2 separate regions of the Homo sapiens genome follow, and region 2 is linked to region 1. The links are contacts of gene promoters, found by promoter capture Hi-C in blood cells and fetal thymus (Javierre and others, 2016). All regions are on one chromosome and are shown on one strand. Each heading gives the region's core, a stretch centred on a gene start or on the middle of the fragment in contact. The rest is flanking DNA. Distances are from core to core; before and after follow the strand shown. Region 1 holds the start of CRIP3 (cysteine rich protein 3). Region 2 overlaps ABCC10 (ATP binding cassette subfamily C member 10).

The links. Contacts are between HindIII fragments. The CHiCAGO score rates a contact against its expected background, and 5 or more counts as called.
Region 2: a fragment that was not itself captured here is called in contact with the fragment with the promoter of CRIP3 in region 1 in 1 of 17 cell types (naive B cells); the score reaches 5.3 in naive B cells.

Annotation. Positions count from the first base shown.
Region 1 is chr6:43,304,965-43,311,367 of GRCh38, forward strand. CRIP3 (cysteine rich protein 3) reads right to left here and starts at 3,862. Exons shown (of 8, transcript NM_206922.3): 1 at 3,786-3,862; 2 at 3,351-3,445; 3 at 2,875-2,932; 4 at 2,648-2,779; 5 at 1,482-1,553; 6 at 1,255-1,349; 7 at 1,103-1,160; 8 at 508-911. The coding sequence starts at 3,828. The coding sequence ends at 850. It overlaps SLC22A7 (solute carrier family 22 member 7), which reads left to right. Exons shown (of 11, transcript NM_153320.2): 11 at 1-574. It also overlaps the pseudogene RPL12P47. RefSeq lists an enhancer at 2,522-3,379. The HindIII fragment of the contact is 7,114 bases long and covers 1-6,285 here.
Region 2 is chr6:43,441,835-43,448,176 of GRCh38, forward strand. ABCC10 (ATP binding cassette subfamily C member 10) reads left to right here. Exons shown (of 22, transcript NM_001198934.2): 9 at 28-126; 10 at 1,136-1,325; 11 at 2,099-2,176; 12 at 2,325-2,519; 13 at 2,954-3,104; 14 at 3,291-3,480; 15 at 3,765-4,108; 16 at 4,443-4,612; 17 at 5,414-5,574; 18 at 5,850-6,103. Among named protein-coding and RNA genes, the nearest start is that of MIR6780B, 10 kb to the left of the region's middle. The HindIII fragment of the contact is 161 bases long and covers 2,291-2,451 here.

The DNA of each region.
Region 1 (6,403 bases), core at 2,612-5,111:
AAAGGTGCCCCTTGGGTTGGGGCAGTGGTGACGAGCTGTGGGAAGAGCCCTGGATAGGAAGCCACTGAGTCTGCCCTGGGCTCTGATAAAACCTTCACCATTAACTTGCTGTGTGACCTTGGGCATGTGGCTTTCCCTCTCTGGGCCTCAGTCTGTTCATCTCCCAAATGGATAATGAAGCCTCTTGGGAGGCCCTACCATAGGATCTGTTGCCATGCTCAAATGAGTTACTGAATAAGGTGCTTCTGCTTCTTCTAGAGATGGTGCTAAAGAAAGGACTAGCATATGAGACTTCTGGTACCAATGGGGCTGGTGGGCATGCTGTCCACTGTGTGGTGCTAGGACTGCCAATGCCAGGCCCAAGGGACAAAAAGAACAGAGCTTTTTGTTCTCATGGCTGGCCCTGCTACCTCCGAGGCACCCTGCAGGGCAATGCATGTCATCCCAACCCCCACACTCCCCATCCTCCAACCCACTGGTCTCATGCCCAAAGAAGAGTTGAAGGCATGGGAGCCAACATTTTATTGAAGAAGCCACAGAGGCTGAAATTCAATAAACACAAGTTTTATGAGTACCTTGAAGCTCCAGAATGTGCTGGGGAAAGGGGTTGTGATGGCCAGGAGGAGGATACCCTTCAAAACGGGCTGTTCCCTAACCAGATAGAAATGGGAAAGGGAAAAAATTGGCAGAGAAAGTCTAGACTCTCTGGCCTACCATGGAGCCTAGGCCCAGGCCCCCAAGATCCCACCTTCCCCAACCCCCATGGGACTGGAGATTTTTGTAGCTTCCATTGGACCATGAGGGGCATGATGGGAGGCCTGAGTTAGGGTGACCTTTTTTGTGAGCGTCTCATTTGAATTTTATCTTCACTGGGTCATAGATGTAGCAGCCCACATCGCCAATGTTCACACCTGAGAGAGAGAGCCCTATCACCAAAGGCCCTGGGTCTGTGGTGCAGGGTTCAGGCCTAGAGGGAACTTGGTGGGGGGGCCAGGGTATGCTTAACCACAGGGGAAGTTGTCCACACATACCCACAGACCATGTACATGCCATACTTCAGGCATGTACATGCCATCCCAGTGTCTGGGATGGGGCTGCCCACCTTTGGGGCCAAACAGGTAGCCGTAGCAGGGGACGTGGCAGTAGGGGACTCCATCATGCTGAGACACAGAGAGAAAGAGAGCTGTCTCAGCCTGGTTCTCTTCCCATCTCCAGCCTCCTCCCAACATAACCACTCATTCCTGCCCTGCTCACCTCAGCATGACTCCCAGCAGTCAGGGTCTTGTGGCAACGCTGGCACCTCAGACACGGTCGGTGCCAATTTCTGCCTAATGACATCACCTTCTCAGCTGGTGGTGGAAAGAAGTGGTAATGCTTCCATTCTAGGGGTAGAGTAGGGAGACCTACCTGCCTTGGATCACCTCCCTCCCCCTTGCTGCCCACCCTGTATCCCCCTCCCCAAGTTTTCCACTGTTACTTACCAAAATAGACGGGCTCCCCACAGCCAGGGCACAGCGAGGTCTCCCCAGTGAATGTCTTCATATGGGGAGGGCCTTTAAAGGGGAAGAGGCCCTGGCTATGTCTGAGGTGGAGATGCCCACCAGCACCTGCCTGCATATGGTGCTGTCCTCTTTCAAAAGCCATGCTCATTCCAGAGTGCCCCACCCAGGCGCCCAAGAGTCTGCCTTCTACAGGCCCAGAGCTGAGCCCCCTCTGACTCCACCTCCTGCCCCATCCCTATGTGTATTAGGGACTATCTGCTTCCTTCTCCTGCTTCCTTTTCATCCTCCCAGGGGCTCACGTACCCACCATCCCAACCCTGTTAGCAACTCAATCCTCAGGAAACTTGAGCTGATATAGGAGCTGGCCACAGCACGGGTGTCAGGTGTTGGGGAGCACAGTGTCATTGCCTACTTCAGGGAATGGAGGGAAAGAACAGGGACCAGAGGAGAAAAGTTGAAGAATATGAGAGGCTGGCCTTATCCCAATGACTCCTCTCCTTTAGATCATTCCTTCCATGGCCCTGGCCTGGGACAGACCTAAGTTCCTGGCCAGCTTTGCCTCTGACTAGCTTTGTGGATGGACAGTCATTTGCCCTGTCTGGATCTCACTTTCCTCACCTGTAACACACGAGGAGAGGGGATAATGCCATCTGCCCAATTAACCTCTTTTTTTTTTTTTTTTTTTTTTTTTGAGATGGAGTCTCGCTCTGTTGCCCAGGCTGGAGTGCAATGGCATGACCTTGACTCACTGCAACCTCCGCCTCCTGGGTTCAAATGATTCTCCTGCCTCAGCCTCCCAAGTAGCTGGGATTACAGGCATGAGCCACCACACCTGGCTAATTTTTGTATTTTTAGTAGAGATGGGATTTCACCATGCTGGCCAGGCTGGTCTCGAACTCCTGACCTCATGATCCACCTGCCTCGGCCTCCCAACAATTTACCTCTTAACTCAGCAGCTCACATGAGGGAATAGAAAGAAAGAAAGAAAAAAAAAGCGGGGAGTAGATAGAGAAGACTTTGCCAAGAATGAAGTTGTGAGAATGTGAAGCAGAGGGCTGGATAGGAGACTGCCACCTGGCCCAACCTCCGCTCCAGCTTGGGGAAGGGTCGGGAGGAGGACTGGGAGGAGCTGAGCCCAGCCTTACTTTTCTTGCCTTGGGGGAGGCCAGTCCTTGGCCTGGGAGGGCTGAAGCTGCTGGGGCTGAGAGGAGTGGTGCAGCCAGGGCTGGGAGTGGGGGGATTGTACAAGTAGGAGCCTACACCACCAATGTTCACCCCTGAAGAGAGAATAGGGGAGGTCAGGCTTGAGCCCCCAGCTCCCAGCCACAAGGAGGGTTCTGCTGACCCATGGCCCCTTAAGGCTGGTACTTACCCCTGGGTCCAAAGAGAGCCCCATAGCATGGCTTGTGGCAGTATGGCCTCCCATTGTGCTGGGCACAAGCAGAGGGAAGTGGGTTACTCAAGGCCAGCGGGAGCCATGCCCCACAGGCCTTCACCCCAGACAGGCTGCCAGGTGTGTCTGTCCACTGGCTGAGTCTGGTGGGCCTGGGAGGGGTGGGGGATGGGCTGGCATGCCAGCATTTCCACTGTGGTCAAGGGAGGAAGAGCAAGAGCAGCTCAGAAGGTGACGCTGCTTCCCACTCACCCTGATCCCCAAAACCATGGGATCCACAGTCACGACCCAGGTTCCCAAATTCCTGGCTGGTGTGGGGTCCACCAGGTGGGCGGCCTTGGGGTTGGCTACTGAGGTTCCCTTTGGCAGGCCTCCAGTGCTGAAGTTGGGGGCTGGTGCCTGGGGGGTGGGAGGCAGTGATGTAAACAGGGCAGTGCTCCCTGGCCAGGTCTTACCTCTGCATGCCCGCCAGGGGACAGGATGCTGTGGCAGCGCTCACATTTCAGGCAGAAGCGGTGCCAGTTCTTGCCCAGGGAGCTCACCTTCTCAGCTGTGGAGGACAAAGTGGAACCGAGCTGCGAGGAGCCTGTCCAAGCATAGGGCCCCTCCTTTCCCTCTTCGGCCCTCTAGGGAATTAGGTTGGCCTGCCCTGCTTCCTGGAGATGAGTGTCTCCAGGAGGCCAGCTCCATCCCGCTCCGGTTTCACACTCCCCACAGAGCTCTCAGAGGAAGGGAGAAGACCCGAGTGGGAGCGGGTGGTGCGGAGACTACCAGCCGCTGCAGGTGAAAAGGGTGTCTGGGACTACACTGTGGCTAGCCCTCCGCGTCCTCAGGGAATCCAGCGGCTCCCATTCGCCCCATCTTCTCCCCCTCCGCAGCCCGGGCCTCACCGAAGAAAACAGGTTGCTGGCAACGCGGACAGGTCCAGCTCATAGCTCCGCTCCAGGCAGCGCACGCGGCACACAGTAGGTACGCCGCTGCGGCTCAGTTCCGCCCCCTCCGCAGGCTCCACCCACGGCTCAGCTTTGAGCCTCCCTGGGCGGAATCCGCGGTTCCTCGGCGCTCATTGGTTATCAGAAATTTAGAACCACTCCACTTGGGAGACAAAGGGCTATTTCGCTGTTACTTCAAAGAGCATTAAAGCCTCGGTCAGACCCACGGGGAGGAGAGAGGATCTTGAAGCCGTGGACTCCAGACTAGGAAGGCACATGTGTAACGAAGACACCTGGACAGGGAGCTCTACTAGTTTCTGGAGCGGTAAGGACAGGAAAAATGTCCACAGTGCAGACATCATTAAAACACTACTCTCTCCAAAGCGAGGGAGTAGGCATTCTTTGAAATGCAAAATTCCACCTTGGCAGTATAGCAAGTGGTTGAAAGCAACAAAATCTGGAGCCCGTCTCTGGTACCCTACTCTTTGACTTCAGGCAAATTACTGAACCTCCCTCTCTGCCTCCATTTTCTCATCTGTGCAATGAGTATGATAACAGTCTCTGCCTCATAGGATTGTTATGAGAGTTAAATAGGTTAATACATGTAGAGTGCCCAAACAGCGCCTGGCATGTAAACGCTGTAACAGCTATAGCTATCACTATGATGGATCCCTTAATGAACTCAAGACTCGGTTTGGAAGCCTCAGAACATGGTCTGTATACAATCGTTTACTCCTAAAGCTGTAGGGTGGCTGGACACAGTGGCTGACACCTGTAATCCCAGCACTTTGGGAGGCCAAGGTGGGCGGATCGCCTGAGGTCAGGAGTCCAAGACCAGCCTGGCCATCGAGGCGAAACTGCGTCTCTACTAAAAATACAAAAATTAGCTGGGCGTGGTGGCGCATGCCTGTAATCTCAGCTACTCGGGAGGCTGAGGCAGGAGAATCGCATGAACCGGGAGGTGTGGAGGTTGCAGTGAGCCGAGATCGCACCACTGTACTCCAGCCTGGGGGACAAGAGCGAGACTCCATCTCAAAATAAATAAATAAATAAAAATGAAAACCAACTACACATTTCTAATCTGGTTTGCTTTAAAATTTTTAAATATTTGTGTTTTTAATGAATGTATTTATTTGAGGCAGGGTCTCTGTTGCCCAGGCTGGAATGTAGTGGTGCATCGTAGCTCACTGCAGTCTCCACCTGCCCGGCTCAAGCGATCCTCTCACTTTAGCCTCTGGAGTAGCTGGGACTACAGACACATGCCACCACACCTGGCTAATTTTTGTATTTTTTGTAGAGATGGGGTTTTGCCATGTTGCCCAGGCTGGTCTCGAATTTCTGGGCTCAAGCGATCCACCTGCCTGGGCCTCCCTAAGTGCTGGGATTACAGGTATATGCCCCCATGCCCAGATAAATATTTGTTAAAAGTAGTTCAATAGACTCTCTGGCACCATTAAAGAGATCCTGGGGACTGCCCAGTCTGTGGGCTGTAATGTTGATGGCCGCCACCCTCATGACATCATAGATGATATCAACAGTGGTTCTGTGGAATGCCCAGCCAGTTAAGCACAAAGGAAAATATTTCAATAAAGGATCATTTGACAACTGGTGGAAAAAAAAAAAAGTAGTTCAATAGTGCTTCAAAGGATATTTCAAGAAATTTAAATCCAGAGAATGGAAGAAATATTTGCAAATCTGATAAGGATCTAGTAACCAGATTATATAAATAACTTATAATGCAATAACAAAAAGACAACCCAATTAAAAGTGAGCAAAGTATTTGAATAGATGTTTTTCTAGAGATACACAAATGGCCAATAAGCACATGAAGAGATGCTGAATATCAATAGTCATTAGGGAAATGCAAATTAGGACCACAATGAGATACCATTTTATACTGACTAGGATGGTTATAATTAAAGAGACAAATATTGGCAAGAATGTGGCAAAATTGGATCCCTCATACATTGTTGGTGGCAACATAAAATGGTGTGGCCACATTGGACAACAGTCTGGCAGTTCCTCAAAAAGTTAAACATAGAGTTACCATATGACTCAGCAATTCCACTTCCAGGTTTATACCCAGGTATATAAGAGAAATGAAAACATATGTCTATACAAAAACTTGTACATGAATGTTCATAGCAGGACTATTTACAATAGTCAAAAGGTAGAAACAGCCCAAAAGTTCATTAACTGATAATGGATAAACAATATGTAGTATATCTGTATGATAGAATATTGCTCAACTGTAAAAAAGAATGTAATACTGATGCATGTTACAACACAGGTAAACCATAAAAACATTAAGTAAGAAAAGCAAGACACAAGAGGCCACATATCATATGAATCAATTCATATGAAATATTTAGAATAGGTAAATCCACAGAGACAGACAGTAGATTAGTGGTTGGCCAGTCAAGGAGATGGAATTGGAAATGTCCACTAATGGGTTCGAAGCTTCTCTATGGGAAGATAAAAATGTTCTGGAATTAGATAGCAGTAATGTTTGTACAACCTTGGAAATATACTAAAAAGCATGAACTGTAGACTTTAAAAAGGCGAATTTTATGGTA
Region 2 (6,342 bases), core at 1,121-3,620, 140 kb after region 1:
GACCCACTGGGGCACCTGTTCCATCAGATCCTGCCTGCTGGAGACCAGACAGAGGTGGGGGAGAAGGGTGTCACCCTTAGCGGAGGACAGCGTGCCCGGATTGCCCTTGCTCGTGCTGTCTACCAGGTCAGTTAAAGATGGAGGTTGCAGTGGCAGGGAGGTGGGGGGAGTCCAGAGCCTTGGGAACTTGGCTGAGTTAGGAGGATAGGAATATTTTCCTTAGCATCTGGTTCCTTCCCTCCTCCCTTGCATGTTCCTGAGGTATTGGCCATCTCATCCCCTTTTGCAGATTTAAGGCAGAGTTCAAGGCCTTTAAAAAGTATTTGTAGGCTGGGCATGGTGGCTTAGGTCTGTAATCCCAGCACTTTGGGAGGCCAAGGCAGGAGGATTGCTTGGGCCCAGGAGTTTAAGATCAGCCTGGGCAATGTGGCAAAACCCTGTCTCTACAAAAAATAATTTTAAAAAGTTAGTTGGTGTAATCCTAGCACTTTGAGAGGCCGAGGAGGGTGGATCACTTGAGGTCAGGAGTTCGAGACCAGCTGGGCCAACATGGTGAAACCCCATCGCTACTGAAAAACATACAAAAATTAGCTGGGCATAGTGGCACATGCCTGTAATTCCAGCTACTCGGGAGGCTGAGGCAGGAGAATCGCTTGAACCCGAGAGGCAGAGGTTGCAGTGAGCCAAGATCACACCATTGCACTCCAGCCTGGGTGATGAGAATGAAACCCTGTCTCCAAAAAAATTTAGCTGGGCTTGATAGCATGCACCTGTAGTCCCAGCTACTCAGGAGGCTGAGGTGGGAAGGATCACTTGAGCCTGGGAAATTGAGGCTGCAGTGAGTGGTGTTCATGCCACTGCACTCCAGCCTGGGCAACAGAGCAAGACCATGTCTCAAAAAAAAAAAAAAGTGTTATATGGGCTGAGGGCCTGGGACCTAGGAAAGCTGAGTGCTGGCCCTGGGGTGCTGTTCTTTCTTGCCTGAAGGGATGTCCACCCTCAGGTCTCACCTCCTTCTCTGCTAGTGTAGGGGTAGCCCCCAGAGTTTCTCTCAACTGTCTTCTCTGATCACTTTGAGATCTTCTCCGGAGAGCCTTTGGGTCCTGGTGCCCACGGTACCCTCACGTCTCCATAGGAAAAGGAGCTCTATCTCCTCGATGACCCTCTGGCCGCTGTGGATGCAGATGTGGCCAACCACCTGCTGCACAGGTGCATCCTGGGCATGCTGAGCTACACCACACGGCTGCTCTGCACCCACCGCACTGAGTACCTGGAGAGGGCTGACGCGGTGCTGCTGATGGAGGCCGGGCGCCTCATCCGGGCTGGTAATGGGGGCAGGAGCCCCGTGTGAGGGAGGTGTCTGCCCAGGTCTGGCAGGGGATTGTGAAGTACAGACTCTGCCCCCTGCTGCATGTGTGCCCTGAGCCAGTCATTGCTGCCTCCCGCCTTCACAGAACTGGTGTGAGGAACTGGGAGAACAGGAGGGAAAAGGAGTACGTTGGTAAAATGCCAGTGTATTTGGGACTCATGGGCTTTGTGACTGGGTGCTCTTGGGAACTTAAAGGCCCAGGGTCTCTGAGAACATTCTCATATCTTCAGAGAAGAGAAAGGAGTCAGGTTTAGAATGGTCTTTTTGTAAAAACAAAAATTTTTAAACTCTGAAAGATTTTTATGCAGAGGGATGTGACCACCTGCAAGTTTACTGGGAGAGAAATAGGAGGAAATGAAGCTCCAGCCAGATATTAGGAATTGAGCGAAGCATGAGAAAAAGCTCTGCAGTAATGAGAAGTAACCCTGGACAGAGTGGCAGGCATAGCTCTGGCGGTCCTCTTGGGGATGGACATTCGTCCCTCTCTGCTGGTCGGAATCAAGGTTTACAAGGATGGACTTGAGTCCTGCTCGAGGTCTAGGGGTATCCAGAGCAGGGTGGGTTAGAGAGGGAGGCCTAAGAGTCCTGCTCGAGGTCTAGGGGTATCCTGCTAGGGTGGGTTAGACGGGGAGGCCTGAGAGGATGAGAGGTGGGATCTGCACACGCACTGAGAAAGGCATAGTATAGACTCAGAACAGTCCTCTCCCAATCTCCCCTTCTACCCTCCAGGACCTCCCTCTGAGATTCTGCCACTGGTACAAGCTGTCCCCAAAGCCTGGGCTGAGAATGGACAAGAGTCTGACTCAGGTATGGCTCCCCAGTGGGAGAAAAGGGCTTGCTTTTCCCTGCCACACTGTAGAGCTTTTTCTACAACGGCTGCCCGCTCCTCTGAAATACTGAGTTTTCAGCTGGCACCCTGCAAGCTTAATTCTTCCATGACCCCTGATTCTCACAGCCACAGCCCAGTCAGTACAGAACCCAGAGAAAACAAAGGAGGGGCTGGAGGAGGAGCAGAGCACATCTGGTCGCCTGCTGCAGGAAGAAAGCAAGAAGGAGGGCGCCGTGGCCTTGCACGTGTACCAAGCTTACTGGAAGGCCGTGGGCCAGGGCTTGGCCTTAGCCATCCTCTTCTCTCTGCTTCTCATGCAAGGTGAGAGCGTGCCTGGGAGTCTCTTACATCGTAACGGCTGTGCTGTCTAGGTGCCCATTACCTTGCACTAATCATTACAAAGCCCAGAGACTCACCAAGCATGGGTCACAGCTGGGACAAAAGCCATACTCCTAATTCTGAGAGATGCCCAGGGGCCAGAGGCATGTGCTCTATAGCTGGCTTCTGTTCTGCCCCCTAGGTTAGCTCCCATTCTGCAAGTCTGAGATCCTGTTCTCCCCAGAGCTGAAGGGTGACGGGCCTATGAGAGAAGCCCACACTAGGGAGGATATGGGGTAGTGGCAGGGTGGGGAGGCCAGGCCAGGCGGATGGAGATGGGCAGGAACCAGAGGCAAGGGCGGAGAAAGGGGGCATTGGAATAGAATGAACAAGGGAGAGGAGCCTCTTACAGCTTTTTCCTTCCTGTCCCCACCCAGCCACGCGGAACGCTGCTGACTGGTGGCTCTCCCACTGGATCTCTCAGCTGAAGGCTGAGAATAGCTCCCAGGAGGCGCAACCCTCCACCAGCCCAGCTTCTATGGGGCTCTTCTCTCCGCAGCTGCTCCTCTTTTCCCCTGGAAACCTCTAGTGAGTGGCTGGGGCTGGGGGTAGGCCTGGTGCTCTCAGAGTGGTCGCCAGGCAGGGAGTGAGGGTTGTGGCCGGTATTCCAGATGCTGTGACTTCTGGAGGGTGGGAGAGATGGCATGGGGGAGGAGAAAGGACCCCCGAGTGGCCCTAGTTTTGGTTACCGACAGCCCCCTCCTCACCACCCAGCATCCCAGTGTTCCCACTGCCCAAAGCTGCCCCCAATGGCTCCTCAGACATCCGTTTCTACCTCACCGTGTATGCGACCATTGCTGGTGTAAATTCCCTCTGCACCCTTCTCCGGGCAGTGCTCTTTGCAGCAGGCACCCTTCAAGCAGCTGCCACTCTGCATCGCCGCCTGCTGCATCGAGTCCTTATGGTGAGGGGCTGGGACCTCGGGGGTAGGGGAGTGCAGTCCTAGCCCCTGTGGAGTGTCCTCCCAATACTCGGGCTCCACTGGGGATGGGAGAGTCTTTCCTGCCCTGGGATATTCTTCCTCAACCTCTGCCAATCTCTCTTCTCTGCCCCCAAATTCTGGGGATATTTTAGTCCTTCCCTATTCTCTATCTTGGGCCTTCCCCTCCACCCCACCTCCCCCAGTGCTGCCTGCCAACCCCTCTTCTGCCAGACTCTGCCCTGGCCCAATCAGCGTCCTTCTCCCAGGCACCAGTGACTTTCTTCAATGCCACACCCACGGGCCGGATCCTAAACCGCTTCTCCTCTGATGTGGCCTGTGCGGATGACAGCCTGCCCTTCATCCTCAACATCCTCCTGGCCAACGCGGCAGGCCTGCTGGGGCTCCTGGCCGTGCTGGGCTCTGGCCTGCCCTGGCTGCTGCTCCTGCTGCCGCCTTTGAGCATCATGTACTATCACGTGCAGCGCCACTACAGGGCCTCCTCACGGGAGCTGCGGCGCCTGGGCAGCCTCACCCTGTCTCCACTGTATAGCCATCTGGCCGATACCTTGGCTGGCCTCTCTGTGCTCCGGGCCACAGGGGCCACCTACAGGTGTGTGAACCAGAGCCCAGGGGGATGAGGTGTTGGGGGGAGAGGAAAAGAGAGACCCCCAAGAAGAGGAATATGCAGGGTATGGTTGGTTCAGCCCTCCTGGGGACAAGGGATGGGGAAGGAGGAAAGCAACAGAAGAAGGAGATAGGGAGGCAGAGTGGACCCCCACTTTGAAAGAGCACACTGGCATCTGCAGCCCTGAGGGAGGCCTGTGGGTATACAGACCAGCTCCCAAGAAGGAGCTGCTCAATAAGGGCCTTCCCTGTTGAGGCCCTGAGGCTGGGTGGCTCAGGGCAACAGTGGAGTGGCTTCACATCCCTCTGGCCTTCCCTAGGTTTGAGGAGGAGAACCTGCGACTCCTTGAGCTAAACCAGAGGTGCCAGTTTGCCACCAGTGCCACAATGCAGTGGCTGGACATTCGGCTACAGCTCATGGGGGCGGCAGTGGTCAGCGCTATCGCAGGCATCGCTCTGGTGCAGCACCAGCAGGGCCTCGCTAACCCAGGTGCCACCCAGGACCCCTCACCCCTACCTCATCCACAAGTTAGTCCACCGCTCTCCCAGATCTCTCCCTGCACCATCCCCCCAACATTTTCACCTCCCACCCAGGGTTCCCTGTGAGGATGTATCATGATTATCATCATCACCCCCGTTTGGAGTTGAGGAGACAATCCCCAGGAGGGACTTGCCCAGGTGGTGGTGGCTTGGGGACTAGAATGAGTCTTCTGAGCTGCTGGTCTCAGTCCCTTCCCTGCTTCCACCCCGTCCCCACCACACTGCCCCAGCCCGCTTCAGTCTCCCACATGCCGTCCCTCCCAGCTTCTCCAGGCCCACCCCCTGCCCTGCATCTGGCCTCCTGTGCTCCTGGCTAGGTCCTATCACCCTCCTGCTTCTCTGTTGCTTTTTTGTTTTGTTTTTTTTTTTGAGATGGAGTCTCGCTCTGTTGCCCAGGCTGGAGTGCAGTGGCACGATCTCGGCTCACTGCAACCTCTGCCTCCTGGGTTCAAGCAATTCTCCTGTCTCAGCCTCCCAAGTAGCTGGGATTACAGGCGCCTGCCACCACGCCCAGCTAATTTTTGTATTTTTAGTAGAGACAGGGTTTCACCATGTTGGCCAGGCTGGTCTCAAACTCCTGACCTCGTGATCCACCTGCCTTGGCCTCCCAAAGTGCTGGAATTACAGGCGTGAGCCACCGCGCCCAGCCTCTGTTGCTTCCTTTAAATGCCAGCAGTCCACAGCCTGGGGAGTCTCCCACAAACGTCCCGGTGTCCAAGCTCTCCCAGCAGCTGGTACTTCTCTCCCCCAGGGCTGGTGGGCTTGTCGCTGTCTTATGCCCTGTCCCTGACGGGCCTGCTCTCGGGCCTGGTGAGCAGCTTCACACAGACAGAGGCCATGCTGGTGAGCGTCGAGCGGCTGGAAGAGTACACCTGTGACCTGCCCCAGGAACCCCAGGGCCAGCCACTGCAGGTGGGCCTGTACCCCCACCCCAGGCCAAAGCTCTGGAACCCTGAAGGCCCCAGTCTCCCTCACAATTCCTTTCTTTTTGCCCACCCATCTTTCTCAGCTCCCATAACCTCTCTTCATGATGACCACAATTCTTCACCATGTCCCTTCTTCCCCATCTCTCATTCTCTCATTCCTCTCACACTGTCCATTTCTCATTATTCTCCCCTCCTCACCATCGCTCCTCATCTCCCCTATCTCCCTTTCCCCGTCTGTCTCCCACCCATGGACCCCACCAGCTGGGCACCGGCTGGCTGACCCAGGGGGGCGTGGAGTTCCAGGACGTGGTGTTGGCGTACCGGCCAGGGCTGCCGAATGCCCTGGATGGAGTGACCTTCTGCGTGCAGCCTGGAGAGAAGTTGGGCATCGTGGGCCGCACAGGCTCCGGCAAGTCTTCCCTGTTGTTGGTGCTCTTCCGGCTGCTAGAGCCCAGTTCAGGGCGAGTGCTGCTGGACGGCGTGGACACCAGCCAGCTGGAGCTGGCCCAGCTCAGGTCTGGGGGAGATGGACTTGGGAGGGGAAGGGGGAACCAGAACTACTGGCACTTAGAGGAGGGCATAGCCAGGAAGGCTTTATATAAACTCACAGCAGCCAGGGCTGATCAGGGGGCTGAAATGGAGGACAGGATGAGCAGGCAAGGACAGCGAACTCCTAGTGCCCAGGTCCAGATTCATGGCTGGTGATCTCAAGGTCTTCCTCGCCCTGACCCAGGCCACCTTTCCAGCTTCATCT